Regions from separate parts of the Homo sapiens genome. Here all the other regions are linked to region 1. Evidence: promoter capture Hi-C in human tissues and cell types (Jung and others, 2019). All regions are on one chromosome and are shown on one strand. The core of a region is centred on a gene start or on the middle of the fragment in contact, and the rest is flanking DNA. Distances in the headings are between cores, read along the strand shown.

Region 1 (3,405 bases), core at 579-3,078:
CCCAGCACTTTGGCGTGCGGATCACCTGAGGTGAGGAGTTCGAGACCAGCCTAGCCAACATGGTGAAACCCCGTCTCTACTGAAAACACAAAAATTAGCCAGGTGCGGTGGTGGGTGCCTGTAATCCCAGCTACTCAGGAGACTGAGGCAGGAGAGTCGCTTGAACCTGGAAGGCAGAGGTGGCAGTGAGCTGAGATCGCGCCATTTCACGCCAGCCTGAAGAAGTAAACGTTGGAGGGCATATGCTGCTGGACTTCAAAACCCATGCCTATATGAACATGTGATTTGTGATACTTATCTGTGGGTTAAGATGGCCTTAAAAAGGTTTTTTTTTTTTTAATCTCTTTAATGTTTGGCTTAATTGAAGACAGCTGGATTCTTACAGCTACTTCTGCAGTCAACTGCTTGCAATATGTTGCTGTAATTGACGTGCACAAAGAAAATCCAACCTCAGGCCCATAATTGGAAAAGAGGGAGTATTTTAATAGACCTTAAAATAATATAATTTCTTTAATATTACACCAAATTTGACAAGTGGTAATTTCTTAAAGGTTGTTACAATGTGAAAACAATCTATATTGAATTTTTCATAATCAGATTAAAATTCATTAATCTAGTTTGCATTTTGAACGGATATTTTACCATGCAGTTTGTAACATGCATGAGTTACTTGTAAACTACAGGTTAACAGACTTATGCAGATATTCCAACAGTTGACACCTGTCACTATACATTTTCCAAAGATCACGTTCTTTACTATCACCACCCACATCATTAGAAAGGTCTTTGCGTATTGGAAAATTGGTAAATTCATGGTGGCAGATACAATGTTGTCTCATTTTTAGGGCAAATGTTATACATTTATTGAAATGCTTTCAGTTGTTTCCCCTGAAGTGCTATAATTACTTCATTTTTAAGAAAATATCTGCAGCTGGGCTCGGTAGTGTACGCCTGTGATCCTAGCACGTTGGGAGGCCTAGGCAGGCGGATCACTTGAGGTCAGGAGTTCGAGACCAGGCTGGCCAACATGGTGAAACCCCGTCTCTACTAAAACTACAAAAAATAGCCGGTCGTGGTGACAGGCGCCTGTAATCCCAGCTACTTGGAGGCTGACGCAGGAGAATCGCTTGAACCTGGGAGGCGGAGGTTGCAGTGAGCCGGGATCATGCCACCGCACTCCAGCCTGGGCGACGGAGCACGACACTGTCTCAAAGCAAAAAGCAGCCAGTCTTGCAACTCAAACAGCTGCGATTTATTAAATGATCTAATTAAATACAATTTAATTTTATTTCTTATTACTGTTAACACCCGAGGACCAAAACTGTGCTCCCGCTGGGACAGGGTCCAGGGCTTGCATATGGGATGGGTCAGGGCGGCCGAGAACGCCAGCCCATCCGTCTCCCGGGGCTCATGCTCGCACTTAAATTTTCTCAGAAAAGCCGAAAGCCGTGATTCCGATCTACGAAGGCGATTACCACCCTGAGCCCCTGACCGTAGAGGTGCAGATCCAGCTGAACCAGTGCCGCTCGGCGGAGGAGGCTCTGCGCATGTTCGCCGTGTAGGGCGTGGGCAGTAAAGGCTGTTCCCAGCACTCCCGCCTCCGCTTCTGTCCCGCCGCACGCGTCGGGGGGCGGGTGTGGCGCCGGCGTCCTGGGGAGGAGGAGCAGCCTCTGCCCGACCCGGCTCGTGCGGACCCCAGGACCGGGCGCGGGACGCGTGCGTCCAGCCTCCGGCGCTGCGGAGACCCGCGGCTGGGTCCGGGGAGGCCCCAAACCCGCCCCCGCCAGAACCCCGCCCCAAATTCCCACCTCCTCCAGAAGCCCCGCCCACTCCCGAGCCCCGAGAGCTCCGCGCACCTGGGCGCCATCCGCCCTGGCTCCGCTGCACGAGCTCCACGCCCGTACCCCGGCGTCACGCTCAGGTAGGTTGGGGGCCGGGACGCCGCTGCTGTGAGGGAGGCTGGGTCACCGTGCAGGGAGGGGCGTCGCCAGGGCGGCCGTGCCTTTGCACCCCGCGGCCCGCTCCCCGGTCCCCCAGGGTCCCCGCGAGGACGCCGGCCCCGCCCGGGTGCGGCGCGAGTCTGGCCTCGGCGGGCACGGCTCGGGGCCCACGGGCCGCTCGGCTTCGGTTCTCCAGGCTGGGGACAGAGGCTGGAGCCGGGCGCGGTAGACCCCGCCAGCCTGGGCCGCCCGCGCCCGACGCGCAGCGCTGCTGCCAACCCCGGCCCGGGGGTCCCCGCAGAGTGGGTCTCTGCTGCCGTCAGCCCTTCGGAGACTGTCGCGTTGAAAGAATGAACCAGAGTTCGCCCCCTGCCCGCGCCAGGGCGTTTTGGGTCACCGAGTCCTGTGGGGATCCGAGGCGGCTGCCGCCCAAGGCCGAGCGCAGCCTCAGGACCCGCGCCCCACCAGACGGGGTCGTGCGCTCCGCGGCGGGTGGAGAGCCGGGCTCTGGGGTCTCCGCGGCTCGGAGGGCGGCGGGGCGAGGCCGTGCGGCCAGCGCCTGGGGACGCCCGCGGCGGGACAGGGGCCACCCGGGCCGCGGCGCAGCCTGGGCTGAAACCTCCTGGGACGGAACCAAGCCACCTGCTGTGCGCCCTTCTCGGTGAATGGCACCGCCGCCCGCCCGGGCCTCTCGTCCACAGCCCGCGGTGCTCGCACACCTGAGACTCATCTCGCTTCGACCCCGCCGCCGCCGCCGCCCGGCATCCTGAGCACGGAGACAGTCTCCAGCTGCCGTTCATGCTTCCTCCCCAGCCTTCCGCAGCCCACCAGGGAAGGGGCGGTAGGAGTGGCCTTTTACCAAAGGTCAGATTCTTTCACCGCCTCTGCCAGACCCCCTTGTCCCCCACCCCCGCATAGATCTCCAGGGGGCTCAGAAAACTCTGGCCGGTGGCTCACGCCTGTAGTCCCAACGCTTTGGGAGGCCAAGGCGGGAGGATCGCTTGAGGCCAGGAGTTCCAGACCAGCCCAGGCAACAAAAGATACCACATCTCTACAAAAAATAAATTAGCCGGGCCCTGCACGCCTGTAGTCCCAGCTACTGGGGAGGCCGAGGCCGGAGGATCGCTTGAACCCAGGAGTTCCAGGCTGCAGTGAGCTATAATTGTGCCACTGCACTAGAGTCTGGGTGACAGAGACACTGTCTCAAAAAAAACCAACAAAACCCTTAGCTCTTTCACTAGCCGGGCTGGCCTCTTCCTACTGTAAACCTGCTGGGCCCCCGTCTCCCTTCTTTCTCCCCTCTCTCCTGCCCTGGAGCTGCCTGACTCTGCCCACGGCCTGCAGAGACCCCAGGTCTTCACGCAAGGTGCCATTCCTCACTCAGTTCTTGCTCAAACGTCCCTCCATCAAGGAGGGCTTTTTAGCTACCCTTGGCTATGGGATCCGTCCTCCGCGTCAGCCAATT
Region 2 (3,632 bases), core at 299-2,798, 34 kb after region 1:
AAAAAGTAGCCAACACTTATAAAATACTTTCTATGAGCTGGGCACTGTTCTGGTCTAAGCACTTACATACATTAACTCAGTCATCCCGGCTCTAACCCCATGACGTAGGTATCATTACCTTCATTTTACAGAGATGTTTAAATAACCTGCCTAAAGTCACACAGCTAGTGAAGAGCAGAGCTGAAACCTGGATCCAGCCAGTCTTGCTCTGAAGTCTGTGTATGGAAACATTCTGTCTAAATGCAAAGAATGGAGTTTGGAAGGAAGCAAATCAGACTGCTGACACTGGTCACATCTGGGGAGGGAAACTGGGGTATGAGCAAGGTACAGGGGACGTTCACATTTTGCTCTGTGTACTTCTGCATTATTTGACTCTTACACAAGGATACATAACTTAAAAAAAGACAAAAACAAAAAATTAATGAGCACTCAATTTTAATAAAAATGTACTTAACTGTCACTGGTAACAGCAAATAAATACTACCTGAGTCATTTTCAAACAAAGGGGAGACTTTTCAAAAACAAGAGTGGCCTTTTCCTTATTATAAGTAACACAGGCTTAATTTAAGTAAACCTGCTAAGCAACTGTCATCAGAAATTTGCAGAAAGTTCTTTTCCTCCGTGGTATAACTGCGGAGTTAAGAACATGGGCGCTACACTCAAATTGCCTGGTTTACCACTGGCTGTGCCACTTACCAGCCAGGTAACCTTGGGTGAGTTACCTAAACTAGTCTGTGCCTCAGTTTTTCATCCATAAAACTGGGACGATAGCAGTCTCTAACTCACAAGGCTGTTGTGAATATTTGTTGTTGTTGTTATGGTAACTACAGTTAACAAGGAAGTATTGTGAAGATGAAACAAATGAATGCACATAAAGTTTTTCTTTTTTTTTTTTTTTTTTTTGAGACGGAGTCTCGCTCTGTCGCCCAGGCCGGACTGCGGACTGCAGTGGCGCAATCTCGGCTCACTGCAAGCTCCGCCTCCCGGGTTCACGCCATTCTCCTGCCTCAGCCTCCCGAGTAGCTGGGACTACAGGCGCCCGCCACCGCGCCCGGCTAATTTTTTGTATTTTTAGTAGAGTCAGGGTACAGAGCCACCGCGCCCGGCCTATAAAGTTTTTCCAATAGATCCTAGCACATAGTAAATGCTCAAGAAATGTTACCTATTATTATTATTTTTTACTTTTTGTAAACAAGCTATGTTGCCTAGGCTGGTTTTGGACTCCTGGGCTCAAGCAATCCTCCTAACTCAGCCTCCTGGGTAGCTGGGACTGCAGACACAGCCACCATGCCTGGTAAATTTTTGTATTTTTTTTGTAGAGACAGGGTCTTGCTATGTTGCCAGGCTGGTCTTGGCCTCCAGCGATCCTCCTGCCTCAGCCCCACAAAATATTGAGATAACAGAGGTGAGCCACTGTGCCCAGCCTGTTAGCTATTATTATCACACAAATACAATAAACAGTGATGGCTACCAAGACCAATTCCTCTAGGTGTTAAAAAATTTATACAACAGTCGTTACAAGATACCAAAATGGCAGCTTTGTAATTTTTATTTTTTTTAATTTTAAATTTTTTATTATTATTTTTTGAGACAGAGTCTCACTCTGTTGCCCAGGCTGGAGTGCAGGGGCATGATCTTGACACACTGTAACCTCCGCCTCCTGCGTTCAAGCGATTCTCCTGCCTGATCCTCTCAAATAGCTGGGACTACAGGTGCATGCTACCATGCCTGGCTAATTTTTGTATTTTTAATAGAGATGGGGGTTTCACCATGTTGGCCAGGCTGGTCTCAAACTCCTAACCTCAAGTGATCCACCTGCTTTGGCCTCCCAAAGTGCTGGGATTACAGGCGTAAGCCACTGTGCCCGGCCCATGAAGTATTTTTTAAAAAGATGCTGTCCCCCTTGGCAAATTAATAATTTAAAAATATACTCACCTGGAGAATCTCTCTTTTGTAATAATCCAAAACTTTTTGTTTGAGCCCACTATTACACACGGATTGGAGGCAAACTAGTCTTAACACCTTGATCAACGAGTGCTTTTGGGCGATACAATCCTCAATGTAATTGTTGACCTGGAAATAAAGTAGCATACATATACATATACATTTACATATACATACACACACACACACACACACACACACACACACACACAATACATGGTTTAGGAACTTAACTTGATGTTTATTATTATTTTTCAAAGTCCAATAAAGGAGATACGTGGGAAAATGAGTTATTTTTCCACAGTCCCTAACCCTTCCCCGAAATAGCTCTGCTAGCCCCAGCCACACACACACCCTGGCCACCACACACACACACACACCCCACACACACATACATACATACACACACACACACACACACACACACCCCCCAGTGATCAGGCCAAGTCACTGGAGCCCAAGGCCGCTGAGAATACAATTGGTCACTCCATATGCCTGTCTGGACACGTCTGTCTCTAAGGACACGCTTCTGAGAGGCTACCAGATGTCTACTCCATTTCAATAGTATCAACAACTAATCTAGCAAAAAGTATCAGTAATTGTTTTATGTTAGGAATTTTCATAAAGTGAATAATTTAAAATTTGTTAATAGAGCTATTTAAAGGAGTTATATAAGAAACTCTTTCAAAAGAGCAAATACCTTATCTAATACAGTCTTAAAAAGATTTGATTTTAGGGGCCAGGTCTCATGTTGCCATGTATGGCAGAAAGTGTCTTGCACAGAATAATGTTAAATATCTGTTACTTGATAAAATCTACACTTGCACATTTTGCATTTGCTCTTAAAAATATTTAAGTGGCCGGGCGCAGTGACTCACGCCTGTAATCCCAACAGTTTGGGAGGCCAAGGTGGGCGGATCACAAGGTCGGAGATCGAGACCATCCTGGCTAACATGGTGAAACCCCGTCTCTATTAAAAATACAAAAAATTAGCCAGGTGTGGTGGTGAGCGCCTGTAGTCCCAGCTACTCGGGAGGCTGAGGCAGAATGGCGTCAACCCGGGAGGCGGAGCTTGCAGTGAGCAGAGATGGCGCCACTGCACTCCAGCCTGGGCAACAGAGCAAGCTGGGTGACACACAGTGAGACTCCGTCTCAAAAAAAAAAAAAAAAAAAAAAAAAAAAAAGGCAAGGCATGGGAATCAAAGCAATTGGTTTTCTGGCTATAATCTGAGGTTTAATAAGCTTTCAATTACTTGTTAAAGAGGTTTTTTTGTCCACATACCTTATCAGTGTCTATTCCAGACATAAACTCCTGTTCCACGGTTAATTTATCAAAAAAGTCTTCAGAAGCTAAAATGAAATTAGCAAATTTGCAACTTAGAAATTAAATGTTAATTTACTTGAGTGGCATGCTTTTATACACAGAGCACGATTCAGAAACTAGACATGTGGCTGGGCACGGTGGCTCACACCTGTAATCTCAGCACTGTAGGGGGCCGAGGTGGGTGGATCACTTCAGGCCAGGAGTTCAAGACCAGCCTGACCAACATGGCCAAACCCCATCTCTACCAAAAACACAAAAATTAGCTGGGTATGGTGGCACACACCCGTAGTCCCAGCTACTCGGGAGGCTAAGGCACAAGAATCACTTGAGGCGGGGAGGCGGAGGTTACAGTGAGCCAAGATCA
Region 3 (3,200 bases), core at 647-3,146, 58 kb before region 1:
AAAGAAACTTCAAAATGCTGACGCTTTGGAGAGTAAGAAAATCAATCTTGGCTGGGCACGGTGGCTCCTGCCTGTGATCCTAGCACTTTGGGAGGCTGAAGCTGAAGGATCACTTGAGCTCAGGAGTTGGAGACCAACCCTGGCAACATAACAAGACCCTGTCTCTACAAAAAAAAAAAAAAAAAAAAAAAATTTAGCCGTGTGTAGCAGTGAGTGCCTGTGGTCCCAGCTACTTGGGCCTGAGGCTGGAGGATTGCTTGAGCCTAGAAGTTGCAGTGAGCTATGATCATGCCACACTGTACTCCAGCCTGGATGACAGAGTGAAACCCTGCCTCTAAATAAAAGAAAATAGAGGCAGACTGTGGTGGCTCACGCCTGTAATCCCAGCACTTTGGTAGGCCAAGGCGGGTGGATCACCTGCAGTCAGGAGTTCACAACCAGCCTGACCAACATGGTGAAACCCTGTCTATACTAAAAATACAAAACATTAGCCACGTGTGGTGGTACACGCCTGTAATCCCAGCTACTCGGGAGGCTGAGTCAGGAGAATCACTTGAACCTGGGAGGCGGAGGTTGCAGTGAGCTGAGATTGTACCACTGCACTCCAGCCTGGGTGACAGAGCAAAACCCTATCTCAAAAAAAAAAAGAAGAAAAAAATAGAAAATCCAAAAAGAAAAACCAGAAGGCCTGCTGGCGTATAAATCCCTGGGCGGGTTTCTGATAAATTGCCCTGTGCTGTCAGCCCCTGCACTGCACTGCTGCCTTCCATGGTGGGTGGGAGACCCCAGAGCGGGGCAGGCGCCACTGAGGGCTTTTCTTGGAGTCGGCCAGCAGGCCACGCAGCATCCGGCACCCTGGGCGGGCTGGCTAGCTGCCTTCTTAGGACATCTCTACTTTGAAGGATTTTACCGCAGGAAGCAATAGCAGCGCTGGCCATTGGTGCTGATGACAGCATTGGGTCTGGTTGAGGGGAAGGGGCTGGAAAGCAGCAGACCCCCCCAGTGCTGCGCATGGTCCCGGAGCTGTCAGCCAGGGGAGTGGGGTCAGCCGTCAGCCAGCCCTCCCATTTCCCGCCCATGGGCCCTGACCACACTCCCTTTTCTAGAAGTCAATCCTAAGGTTTCTCTGCTCTGGCTAAGAGGATGTAAATTTGGATTCTTAGAGGGCATGGCACCCCCAGTCCCTGCCCAGATAAAGTAGCACAGTGGCAGGCAGCACCTCTGTCTGTTGCTGACGTTGGGGGGCTTACACACCCACCTCATCTCCGTGCACAGCCATGACTGGCCCTGCCGGCAGCTGGGGTGCAGGTAAGGGTCTCTCTCATAGAGGGGAGCTGCAGCTGAGAACTGGCGAGGCCCCTTCCTCCAAGGCCCTAGCTGGCCCCCGGGTGAACCTGAGGTGGCAGGTTCAGGTTTTCAAGATGGTGAGGTCTCGCTGTCTGCTGGACAGTACGTTAGGCTCTCAGAACTCATGGGTGTGGAGCTGGGCCTGTCCCGGGCCAGTGGACCCCTGTGTGTGGGGGATTTGGGGTGCTGTGGGCCTGGTTATGCACTGGCAGATGGACCTTGCTTTGGTCCAGCTCTTTTCCTTACCCTGGCTCTGACGTGGGAAGGCTTGGAGGGCCCGTCTCATCACCCCCGTTCGCCCTCAGCTGTCCCTTTCCCTTGTCGCCTGGCCGCTGCCTCGCCCGCCTGAGGCCTCCTAGCAGGCAGCCTGGGTGTGAGTTGAGCCTCTCTCTTTTCCCTCTGGTGGGAAAGTGGCCTTTCCCTCAACACCTGCTCCCCGGCCCCAGAGGAACCCACCTGTTTTGGAGCTCAGCTTGGCCCAGCGTTTCCTTGGGGAAGGGAAAGGAGGGCTGGACAGCACTGATCCGGGCAGGCAGCGTGTGCAGCAGTGGCCAGCCAGAGTGCCAAAGATGCACGGGGATGTGGTGTGTGGCTCCGGGCCCTCGACATCTCTGCTTTGGGGGATTTTTACCTTGTCTGCACACTTGTCAGGGGAGAGGGGACAGCAAGGTGGGAGGTTGAAGAGCTTTGAGGCTCAGCAGCATGTTTGTGGCATTCGGTGGACACCATGGCCTTGGGCGGCTGGACAGGTTTTTGTGATGTGAGGGACACGCATGGGGCACATGGTAAGCTTGGCAAGGGCTCCAGGAACGCTGACGAAGGGTTTTAGGACCCCCACCCCCATGCCTGTACCAGGGCTGGCCTCCAGAGCGGGTGAGGACAGAGCAGCTGTGGGCTTTTCATTCTGAGGTCTTGGCCCCCCTGGCCACCGCAAGGGACTCTTTGCTTGTCAGGGCTTGCAAAAACCAACCTTCGAGAAAGAAAAGGGAACTCTTCACGTTGAATGTTGACTTTGTGTGTATGCGTGTGTGTGTGTGTGTGTGCACGCGCGCGTGTGCGTGTTGACTTCATGGAATTTTGTTTTGTGAAATTCCCCTCCAATCGTGTCAGAATTTACCTCCATGCCCCAGTCACACTGTTGGTTCTGCGCTCTGAACCTGGGTGTAGCTCATTTGAAGGACTCTCTTCTGCGTTTCCTAACAGTTATTTGGTGGTCTCAAGAGTTGAGGTTGTGGAGGGTTGGGAGAAACTGAAGTTCTATACATTTCCATAGAGTTTACATCCTGCAGTTAAAAGGCAGGGAGGGCTCAGCCCGGGCCCCACAGCTCCAGGCCATCCCCTACGGGCTGCCCACAGTGCCCCCTTTTCTCTAGCCGAATCTTTTTCGAACAGCCCGGGAAAGGAAAACGGATTCACTTGCTGATTTTGTTCACGGCGGAAGCACCATGTTCCGTTCCTTTTTCAGGTTCAGTTTGTTGTGTAAATGGCGGTTTTTTCTGGTGTGAGCTTTGGTGATGGTGGCAGGGCTCCTTTGAAGAGATGGTTCCACCTCGTGGTCTGAAGAACAAACCAGAGAAGAGTCTGGTTTGGCCAGAGGCCCCCTCCGGTCCACGTCACCCTGAGTACACCCCTCTGATTGCTCTGCTGTCAAGAAGCACGTTTCCACCAGCTGTATTCAACACTACAATGCATTTTTTAAACTATATTTGCATCCAAGACAATAAAGACACCTTATTTTTTTTGAAAAGCCTGTGATGTGTGGCCTTAAATACTATCCTGTTGCAGCAGTGGAAGAGATGGGAAAATGAAGAGATCTGAGCATAGCGATGCCCTTGGCCAGCTCACTCCTTCTA

The links. Contacts are between HindIII fragments. The study calls those that stand out against the background at their distance.
Region 2: a fragment that was not itself captured here is called in contact with the fragment with the promoter of B3GNT4 in region 1 in 1 of the 25 tissues and cell types used here (bladder).
Region 3: a contact is called between a fragment that was not itself captured here and the fragment with the promoter of B3GNT4 in region 1, in 1 of the 25 tissues and cell types used here (mesenchymal stem cells).

The regions. Positions count from the first base shown.
Region 1 is chr12:122,201,881-122,205,285 of GRCh38, forward strand. B3GNT4 (UDP-GlcNAc:betaGal beta-1,3-N-acetylglucosaminyltransferase 4) reads left to right here and starts at 1,829. Exons shown (of 3, transcript NM_030765.4): 1 at 1,829-1,921; 2 at 2,642-2,804. The coding sequence starts at 2,739. LRRC43 (leucine rich repeat containing 43) reads left to right here. Exons shown (of 12, transcript NM_001098519.2): 12 at 1,435-1,591. The coding sequence ends at 1,562. RefSeq lists a silencer at 1,514-2,143. The HindIII fragment of the contact is 16,495 bases long and covers 1-3,405 here.
Region 2 is chr12:122,236,652-122,240,283 of GRCh38, forward strand. It overlaps VPS33A (VPS33A core subunit of CORVET and HOPS complexes), which reads right to left. Exons shown (of 13, transcript NM_022916.6): 9 at 3,227-3,294; 10 at 1,936-2,073. Among named protein-coding and RNA genes, the nearest start is that of DIABLO, 12 kb to the left of the region's middle. The HindIII fragment of the contact is 8,655 bases long and covers 1-3,632 here.
Region 3 is chr12:122,144,251-122,147,450 of GRCh38, forward strand. MLXIP (MLX interacting protein) reads left to right here. Exons shown (of 17, transcript NM_014938.6): 17 at 1-3,094. Among named protein-coding and RNA genes, the nearest start is that of IL31, 28 kb to the right of the region's middle. The HindIII fragment of the contact is 4,489 bases long and covers 1-3,200 here.